Linked DNA regions of Homo sapiens: region 1 is linked to region 2. Evidence: promoter capture Hi-C in 16 types of primary human blood cells and fetal thymus (Javierre and others, 2016). All regions are on one chromosome and are shown on one strand. The core of a region is centred on a gene start or on the middle of the fragment in contact, and the rest is flanking DNA. Distances in the headings are between cores, read along the strand shown.

Region 1 (4,754 bases), core at 543-3,042, 100 kb after region 2:
CTTTAAGGAAAGAAGGAAAAACTGGAGGGTGGCAGAGCTCCTGGGAAGCATCTAGTGGACAGGCGGGCATTTACCTTATAAGCAGGCTGGAAGATCTCACTTTGAAACCTCAATCCCCTTTAAAAACGTTTATTCCTGAAAATCCAAATCATCTCCGAATGCTGGGTCAGAGAAAGCTGCTTCTATAAAGCTTGTGTTGACTAGATAGTCTGAACGTTCAAAGAGTAAAATGTCGTTGTCACCTACATAGCAGCTTAAAAACATAACATCACCCCATTTAGTAAGAGACAAGAGTTGGCTCAGGAAACCAGGCATCTATGCAGAATGTTTAAGAATGGAACTGACAAATTAAGCTAGAGAAGGGGAGAAAAAAAAGCTGGAAGAAGAGCCACTTGAATTTTTGCCAGAGAGAAAATAAAATGGATATAAATCTCAGCCAGAAGTGATTCTTTAGACAGGCTGAGTAACAATGACACACTGGTTATAGAACAATGATTTCAAAATACACCCCCCACCCCCGCCAAAATACCAGTTGTGCAAGTGCAATCTCCCCTAAAGTCTCCAAAAGCAAAGGAGAATGGACTAGACAATTCTCTATTTCAATTCTAATGCAAACATCCCAAATGCTAAATGATGTAAGGGAGCACTTAGAAAAGTCAGCAGAAATGACTGTAAGCTGACTGTATATATTTTCAGTTTGCCCCCAATATACTCAACCTACAGTAATGCTTTAGGGATCCGGACTCAGCTACACAGATCTGCTTTTACCAGGAAGCTGTACAAATGGGATAAAATCTCCTAGAGAGGACCCCATCAATTAGGGGTCCCCATCAATGGGGGAGACCGCTCTCAATAAAAGAAACTAGAAGTGTTTCCTTTTTTCAAAATTGAGGGTGGGGAGAAGGAGATTACCTTGCCCTTTTTTGTCATGAAAACTCATGCAGAACATGAATATGCCTTCTTTTGTAAAGCAAACGATTATCACTCTACCCTCAATTTAGCTGCTGTACAAATCTAAATTTTCCCACATATTTTTGCAAATGACTATATACCTATAAATGGCCCAATTATTCCAAGTTAGTAAGTTTATGGTTTTTGCCAAACCACTGGAGAGAACCAATAAAAGCTGCCCTCAGTAGAGAAAGTGTAGAATGTGCCTTTTAGGCTTGGGAGGGCCACCAAGATTACTTTTTAAAATCTATTTCTTTTTTTTTGAGACAAAGTCTTGCTCTGTCGCCCAGGCTGGAGTGCAGTGGTGCGATCTCAGCTCACTGCAACCTCCGCCTCCCAGGTTCAAGGGATTCTCCTGCCTCAGCCTCCCAAGTAGCTGGGATTACAGGTGCCCACCACCACGCCTGGCTAATTTTTGTATTTTTAGTAGAGACAGGGGTTCACCATGTTGGTCAGGCTGGTCTCGAACTCCTGACCTCGTGATCTGCCCGCCTCAGCCTCCCAAAGTGCTGGGATTACAAGCGTAAGCCACCATGCCTGGCCTTAAATCTATTTCTATAGTTTTTCCTTTACTAGATATTTCATATAAATGGAATGATACAATGTGTTGACTTACGTCTCTGGCTTCTTCCACTTAGCACATTTCTGAGGTTCATCCATTTTGTTTCATGTACCAATAGTTTTTTAAATTGCTAGGAAGCATTCCACTATGAGGATACAGTTCTACCTTTTATATATTCATTCACTAGTTGATGGACAGTTGATCAAAATCTGAATTGTTTCCAGTTTTGTTTTTTGTGTTTTCTGAAACAGAGTCTCACTCTATCACCCAGGCTGGAATGTAATGGCACAATCTCAGCCCACTGCAACCTCCACCCACTGGGCTCAAGCAATCCTCCCACTTCAGCTTCCCAAGTAGCTGGGACCACAGAAGCACACCACCACGCCCAGCTAAGGTGTTGTATTTTTTTGTAGAGACAGGGTTTCACCGTATTGCCCAGGATAGTCTTGAACTCCTGAGCTCAAACGATCCACCCACCTTGGCCTCCTAAGGTGCTGGGATTACAGGCATGAGCCACCCTACCCGGCTGTTTCCAGTTTTTGGCAGCAGTCACACACAAGTCTTTGTGTATGTAAAAGTAAAAATATTTTACTTTTTTTTTTTTTTTTTTGAGACGGAGTCTCGCTCTGTCTCCCAGGTTGGAGTGCAGTGGCGCGATCTTGGCTCACTGCAAGCTCCGCCTCCTGGGTTCACGCCATTCTCCTGCCTCAGCCTCCCGAGTAGCTGGGACTACAGGCGCCCGCCACCACGCCCGGATAATTTTTGTATTTTTAGTAGAGACAGGGTTTCACCCTGTTAGCCAGGATGGTCTTGATCTCCTGACCTCATGATCCGCCCGCCTCGGCCTCCCAAAGTGCTGGGATTACAGGTGTGAGTCACCATGCCCAGCCAACGTTTTACTTTTTAAAAGTAAAAAGATTTTGCTTTTTAAAAGTAAAAAGTCTCTGTGTGTGGACATGTTTTTACTTTTGTTAGGTAGATAACTAAGAGTAGAATTTCTGGGTCATATGGTAAGTGTATGTTTAATTTTTAAAGTAATTGTTTTCCTGCTAGTGAAGTTTCCTTAAAAACAAAACAAAATGGCCGGGTGCAGTGGCTCACGCCTGCAATCCCAGCACTTTGGGAGGCCGAGGCGGATGGATCACGGGGTCAGGAGATCGAGACCATCCTGGCTAACACGGTGAAACCCCGTCTCTACTAAAAATGCAAAAAATCAGCCGGGGATGGTGGCGGGCGCCTGTAGTCCTAGCTACTCGGGAGGCTGAGGCAGGAGAAAGGCGTGAACTCAGGAGGCGGAGCTTGCAGTGAGCTGAGATTAATGCGCCACTGCACTCCAGCCTGGGCAACAGAGCCAGACTCCGTCTCAAAAAAAAAAAAAAAAAAGGAACTGTCAAACTGTTTTCTTTTTTTTTTTCTTTTTTTTTTTTTTTTGCTGGAGTGCAATGGCGCGATCTTGGCTCACTGCAACCTCCGCCTCTGGGGTTCAAGTGATTCTCCTGCCTCAGTCTCCCGAGTAGCTGGGATTACAGGCGCCCGCCACCACGCCTGGCTAATTTTTTGTATTTTTAGTAGAGATGGGGTTTCACTATGTTGGCCAGGCTGGTCTCGAACTCCTGACCTCGTGATCCACCCGCCTCGACCTCCCAAAGTGCTGGGATTACAGGCGTAAGCCACAGCGCCCGGCCCTAATGTTTGATAGTTCTAAATCTGCCACCTACTCACCAACACTGGGTACTGTTAGCCTTTCTGATCTCAGCCATTTTAGCAGAAGTATAGCAGTTTCACACTGTGGTTTTCACTTGTACTTCCCTTTATGTCTAATGATATCAAGCATCTTATGTGCTTATTTGTAATTACTGTATCTTCTCTGATACAGTATTCAAAGCTTTTGCCCATTTTTAATTGGACTGTCTTTTTTTTGAGATGGAGTCTTGCTCTGTCACCCAGACTGGAGTGCAGTGGCACCATCTCAGCTCACCACAACCTCTGCCTCCCAGGTTCAAGCAATTCTCCTGCCTCAGCCTCCAGAGTAGCTAGGACTACAGGCCCACACCACCACGCCCAGCTAATTTTTGTATTTTTAGTAAAGACAGGGTTTCACCACGTTGGCCAGGCTGGTCTCAAACTCCTGACCTCAGGTGATTCACCTGCCTCGGCCTCCCAAAGTGCTGGGATTACAGGCATGAGCCACCATGCCCAGCCTGGATTGTCTTATTATCATTATTATTTTCTTTTTTGAGATAGGTCTTGCTCTGTTGCCCAGGCTGGAGTGTACTGGCATAATCATGGCTCACTGCAGCCTTGACCTCCTTGGCTAAAGCAATCCTCCCACCTCAGCCTCCCAAGCATCTGGAACCACAAGCAAGGACCACTATGCCTGGCAGGTTTGTTTGTTCTGTTTTTTTTTTTTTAATTTTATGTAGCGATGGGGTCTCCCTGTGTTCCCTAGGCTAGTCTCAAACTCCTGATCTCAAATCATCCTCCCACCTCAGCCTCCCAAAGTGCTGGAATTACAAGCATAAACCACCAAGCCCGGGCTGCCTTATTAAGAGTTCTTGGCTGGGCGTGGTCACTCACACCTGTAATCCTAGCACTTTGGGAGGCTGAGGAAGGCCGATCACTTGAGCCAGGGGTTCAAGACCAGTGTGGACAACATAGACAGTGTCCGTATTAAACACACACACACACACACACACACACACACACACACACACACACACGCAAATAAAAAGAGTTCTTTATACATTCTGGACACAAGTGCTCTGTAAGATGTATGTTTTGCAAATTATTTCTCCCAGTCTATGGCTTGTCTTTTCATTTTCTTTATGCAGCAAAACATAGAAAAATTTTTTCCAGGCCAAGAGCAGTGGCTCATGCTTGTAATCCCAGCACTTTGGGAGGCCAAGGCAGGCAGATCACTTGAGCCCAGGAGTTCGAAACCAGCCTGGTCAACATAGCGAAACCCCATCTCTACAAAAATTACAAAAATTAGCCGGGCACAGTAACATGCACCTGTAGTCCCATCTACTTGGGAGGCTGAGGCAGAGGAATTGCTTGAACCCGGGAGGCGGAGGTTTCAGTTAGCCGAGCTTGCACCACTGCACTCTAGCCTGGGTGACAGAGAGAGACTCCATCTCAAAAAAAAAAAAAAAAAAAGTAACCATAAAAATTCAATGACTATCACCCATACTACACCCATTTTCAATGCAAACATGCTAGCTGCTGGCCTCACTACCAATCA
Region 2 (5,300 bases), core at 2,197-4,696:
TTCTGCTGTGAGAGAAAAAGACCTCAGCTGTTGGGGGTCCTCCCCTGCCTCCCCTGGCAACCCATCCACCTTCCCCCACTCCACCCACACATGGCCTTGTGGGTCTGGCCCTCCACCCCGTGGTAGAGACACAGATACGGGTCCTGGAGAAGACACTTATTGCCCCTGTAGTCCTGCACAGACAGCACCAGTGTGGGGGGCTCTAACCCAGAGGGAGAGCAGAGGTGAGAGAAGAAACCTCAAAGAAGGGGCTTCAGCTAGACACACCCCAACTCCCACCTGGCTCAAGTTTCTACCAAACAGCCCAGACTCCTCTCCCCATTCACCGCGCATCCCCTTAAGCTGCCAGAGAAAATGCTGGGACTTCAGGCTCCCTCTCCCAGACTCAAACCGTTCTTTTGCGAAACCATCTCTCTATCCAGACATCTTTGGATTTAAGAATCAACCTGAGGCTGGGCACAGTGGCTCACACCTGTAATCCCAGCATTTTGGGAGGCCGAGGTGAGCAGATCGCTGGAGCCCAGGAGTTTAAGACCATGCTGGGCAACATAGCAAGACCCTGTCTCTAAAAAATAAAAAAATTTGCTGGGTGTGGTGGCATGTGCCTGTAGTTCCAGCTGTTTGGGAGGCTGAGGCAGGAGGATCGCTTGAGCCCAGGAGGTCAAAGCTATGGTGAGCTGTGATCATGCCACTGTACTCCAGCCTGGGTGACAGAGCAAGATCCTGTCTCCAAAAACAAACAAAAAATCAATCTGAGCCAAGCAGCTGCATCCTCTAGAAGCTCTTTGCCTTTTAGGACCTGTTTCTACTTCCAGGTCATTTGCACACACCAGATGGAGTAGGACTTGAGGGGAAACACAATTGTGTGTCATTTCCATTTCTGTGCAAGGTGCTGAGCCCAGGAAAGTGGACCCCTCATCCTCCAAACCCATAACCCCATCCCTTGAGACCAAGCATGTGGGGGAGGCAGGAGAAGCCTTTCTAGGAACCAGAAACATTCTAGTTCCCTCACTTCTCCCCTTTACACATGCGCGTACACACGCATGCACACGCGCACTGTCCCCACCTATTCAGGGTGCCTGAGAAGGGCCAGGAAAAGATGGGTTCTCTGGGAATCTGGGAAGTCCTCCCTGGGGCAGGATCCAGGTCCTTGTCCTCCCAGGGCTGGAGTGTACAATCTACAGATTCAACTCATGGTGGCTGGAACTCTCAGCTAATCTAGCCTCCTCCCCTTCCACAGCAGCTTGAATACCTCCTGTGCCCAGGACTTCACTACCTCTCAGGGCAGCCCATTCTCTCCAAATTTCTGGACGGCAGCTCAGGCCCCTGGATGCAGCCATGACTGCCATAGCACCAGAATCGTTCTTCCAGGCTGGGCTGTGCCCCTGCCCCCATGCCAAGGGTGCTTTCGTATAAATTTTGGTGCTTCTGCTGCCTAGGCTGCAGTAAGGCACTGGTGAGGGGTGCACTTGGGGAAGGGTTGTCATCAGGCTGTGTCGGGAAGGTCTATGGGTACTGAACTGGGAAGATTCAAGACTGCCACTTCACAGACTTGCTGAAGGACCATCTGCTCAGAGGAGTCCCTGCCTTCCTCTGGCCACCACTTTTCCCTCTGCGAAGGGGAGAGGATGAGTTGAGTGACTCTGATGACCCCCGCCAACGTTCTGGATGATCCCCTTTTCCTCTGCCCTGCCCTGCCCTCCCCTTTCTCTCCCATGCATTTGGCACTTCCTGCTGCCCCCACCAGGGGTCCACAGAGACACAGGACAGGCTGTGGCTTTGACTTGCTTTATTGAGCCTGTGTGGGAGCAGGGAGCAAGCTTTGGCCAGAGCCAAGGGTGCAGAGGGGAGAGCTGGGCTGGCGCTGCTCATGGAGTCGTAGGAGACAGAAGGTGGCATTATAAGTCCAGCGGGCTGAGCTCCCTGTGAGGACAGGGCAGAACATGGCAGTGTAGGGGGTAGGCCTCGTGCCCTCAGGAGGCCTCAGGCTGGCCCTGGGCTCCTGTTCTCCCTCTTCCACCCCCCACTACACCTTTCCAAGCCCTGATTCAGTCCCACCACCCCCATTTCAGCTCCAGGGAGCTGGACAGACAGGGCAGGGAGTCAAACTCACCTGGGGACAGCAGCATGCGGGGACCCCCACTCCGAGAAGGCCAGCGTGTCCTCTTTGTGTCTTTTCCCATACCTGGGAGGGAAGAGGCAGCAGGGGCAAGCACTGTGCCCAGGTGCCAGCCCACCTGTTTCATATCTGCCTGTAGGCACCATCTTGCCCAGGGCACATTGGTCTAGGCCTGTTGAGCACAGATGCCCTGTTTTCCCAAGAGCAGGCCTGGAAGGGGCTGGGGCTGGGGCTGGGGATAGGGTGTGGCCAGGAATGTGGAGTGGGCCCAGGGTCCCAGGGGCTGGGATCTCTCTCCCCAACTGTGGCACACACCTAGGCCTGGTCAGCATGTTGATGTATCTACGGAGATCAGCTGCATACTGGGCCATCTGCTCTGGTGTGGCATTGTCCCCTGGGTACACTGGCTCCAGTGGGGCTCCCTGGGCACCCAGCAGTGGCTGTAGTAACAGAGCCACGCAGGTGGACAGGAGCAGCAGGGAGAGGCAGAGGCGTGCGGCAGCCATCTGAGGAGCAAGCAGAGGGGAGGTGGAGAGCCCGGGCTGCAGATTTTCCCGTGCCCAGGAAGCAGGGCCCAACTATCCAGCCCCTTAGCCCATCATCCATTTCTCCAAGCCTGGGGACAAGGGGGCAGAGCAAAGGGCCACTCCAAGCTGGCCACTCCACCTCCTAGACACTGCTCTGAAGGCACGGACAGCCTGTCCTGTGAGCAGCCCAGCAAGCCAGGGCCTCGCAAGTTAGAAAAGTATAGCAGAGAAAATGGGGATGTGAGTCCTGGAGACACGGGACTCATGACATCCAGGGCCTCATGGCTCCCAGGAGGCAGCAGCTAGTGGGAATAAGGGCATGCCAGGTCACCCACAGGGTGGGGGACACAGAATGAACTCGGGAAGCCAAGGACAGAAATCCATGGCCTTGTGGGTCTGGCCCTCCACCCTGCGATAGAGACACAGATATCGGTCCTGGAGAAGACGCTACTGTCCATGTCGTCCTGCACAGACCAGCAAAGGCACTCACACAGGGACCCCAGTCACTCACAAGGTCACAGTCACACATTCCAGTTCACAGCCATGCACACGAGTGTGCACACACACGTGCAGTCAGCAGACGGCTCTTCTAGCGTGACAGGTCTGTCCAGATGCAGAAAGCAAGACCCAAGCAGGACCTTAGGCCTCCCAAGGCCCCTGGCCCTGCAAAGCACCACCTCCTCTCCATCCCAGGCCCCAGCCTGGGGGAGGCCCCCAGAGCCCCAGGCAGGCTGAGCCCACTTACCCGGAGTCCAGAGTAAATGGGCACTAGACCAAGCGAGCACCTGCCTCAGGCCGGATGGGCCCCTGCCCTCGGCTGGGCCGCTTTATAGTCCTCAGCCCCCCAGAGTCCCCGCCTCCTGTCAGCCTCTCTCACTCCGAAGCCCTCACCCCTCCTCTCACTGTCTCCTCATACTGGCAACGCCAGTACTGAGGCCAGAGACGGGAGGGGGACAGGGCAGTTCTGTGGGTGCCAGACCAGCAGCATAACAGATAAAACTGGACCACAGTAAAAGTCTCCTGTGGGCCCCCATCACTGACACCCCTTCCCTTTGGGCACCAGAGCAGGCTTGGTTCAAGAAAGATGGGGTTCTGGGACTCGAGAGTGACTGAAAGGTTTTGGTCACAGGCCTTGGAACTAGCTCTCCTGCCTCCCAAAGATCAACCCAAATCATCCAACGGATTCTCTTGGGGCAGAAGATTGAGGCTGCAGCTGGAAGACTGAGGCTACAGCCAGAGCCTCCAGGCTGAAGAATGGAAACTCAGGCCATCCTCTGCAGCTTGCAACTAGAACAAGGTGGGAAGAGGGAAGGGGCCTCAGGTCCTCAGGCAAGGTGGAAAGGAGTGGGGTGCCAGGCTTGGAGAAACCCATTTGGTGGGTGCATAGGATGCAGAATGAGAACTCATGTGCCTGGGTTCAGGGGAAATGTTGAGGGGGGTGCCGGTTTCCAGTATCCATTTCCCTCCCCATCTCAGAGCCCCCATTCCAGGGAAGTGCTAAAAACCAGCTTCATTTGTAAAGCCTCACATTTTCCAAAGTGCTGCCAGCTCAGTCACCTCACTAAATCCCCACAACAACCCATTTTACAGATTCAGGATCTGAAATCTGCTCAGAGATGTCAAATCACTGGCCCCAAACCCCACAGCCAGTCAGACCCCAAAATTTAACTCCAAACCTGGACTGTTTTTTTTCCTAAGTGGGGCCGTCAAAGTATTGTTATAATTTCCCACTTTTTGGCTGAGAAACCTGAGGCTCACAGAGGTAAAGACGCTTGCTCAAGATCTCATAGCTACCGAGGTTCCGAATTCTGGCTTAGATTCTCAACCCCACTAATCCATCCCCACCAGAAGCCCCTGAGTCTCCCCTGCCCAGCGTCTCTTCCCAACCCCCAGTCTCCCTCCCCTGCTTAGGCCAAGGAGTGGTAACTGGCTGTGTCTGAATGACACGGTGACACCAAGTACGGAGCTAAGGACTTATGACTGCTGACGTTCTGCTGTCCCAGATCAGTATACCAAGAAGTTGGGAGATGGGGGGGACTGTTGGGGAAGAGGGGACTGGAGGTGAAACTCCAGGGATCTGGCAGGGTGGGCTTAGAGTCAGACAGACCTGGGTCCAAATCCTGGCTCTGCATTGGCTGGCTCTGTGAGCCTGGGAAAGTAATTTCTTTAGCCTCTCTGAGCTTCACTTTTCCTCTCAGTAAAATAGGCTCATCACACCCATCTGAAGATAGGGAGAATAAAGGAAGGCTCAGCAAACATCAGTGTTCTGCCTTGACCCTCTCAATTTTGATTTTGGTTAACAAGAAGAGCAATAATGCTTCACCAGACAACTTACATTCCACAAAGCAAATACGAAAGTCATTCTGTCTCAGCAAGCCCGGGCCTTTCTCTGGACTGAGGTTTTCCACTTGCAAAACAAGGGTGTGAATTGGTGGCTGGTCTCAGCCTGGCCTTGGGTTTGGCGGGTAGAGGTTGCAGCTCGCCGCCAGAGGGCGCCAGGCTCCAACCCTAGTTAAAAGGATCTGAGCTCCCACAGGACCATGGCCTTGGAGGGACCTGTTCTGGCTGCTACTCATGTGGGGACCCAGCCCCACCCAACAGACAATGGATCTAGGGATTGACTCAGATGCCAGGGCCACTTACAGTTCTATCCT

What was found. Contacts are between HindIII fragments. The CHiCAGO score rates a contact against its expected background, and 5 or more counts as called.
Region 1: a fragment that was not itself captured here is called in contact with the fragment with the promoter of PPY in region 2 in 4 of 17 cell types (naive B cells, naive CD8 T cells, naive CD4 T cells and 1 more); the score reaches 6.1 in naive B cells.

What each region holds. Positions count from the first base shown.
Region 1 is chr17:44,043,832-44,048,585 of GRCh38, forward strand. The region is part of intron 2 of LSM12 (LSM12 homolog); the gene reads right to left. Among named protein-coding and RNA genes, the nearest start is that of LSM12, 20 kb to the right of the region's middle. The HindIII fragment of the contact is 3,208 bases long and covers 189-3,396 here.
Region 2 is chr17:43,939,030-43,944,329 of GRCh38, forward strand. PPY (pancreatic polypeptide) reads right to left here and starts at 3,447. Exons shown (of 4, transcript NM_002722.5): 1 at 3,392-3,447; 2 at 2,435-2,625; 3 at 2,114-2,185; 4 at 1,775-1,923. The coding sequence starts at 2,625. The coding sequence ends at 1,899. The HindIII fragment of the contact is 11,028 bases long and covers 1,819-5,300 here.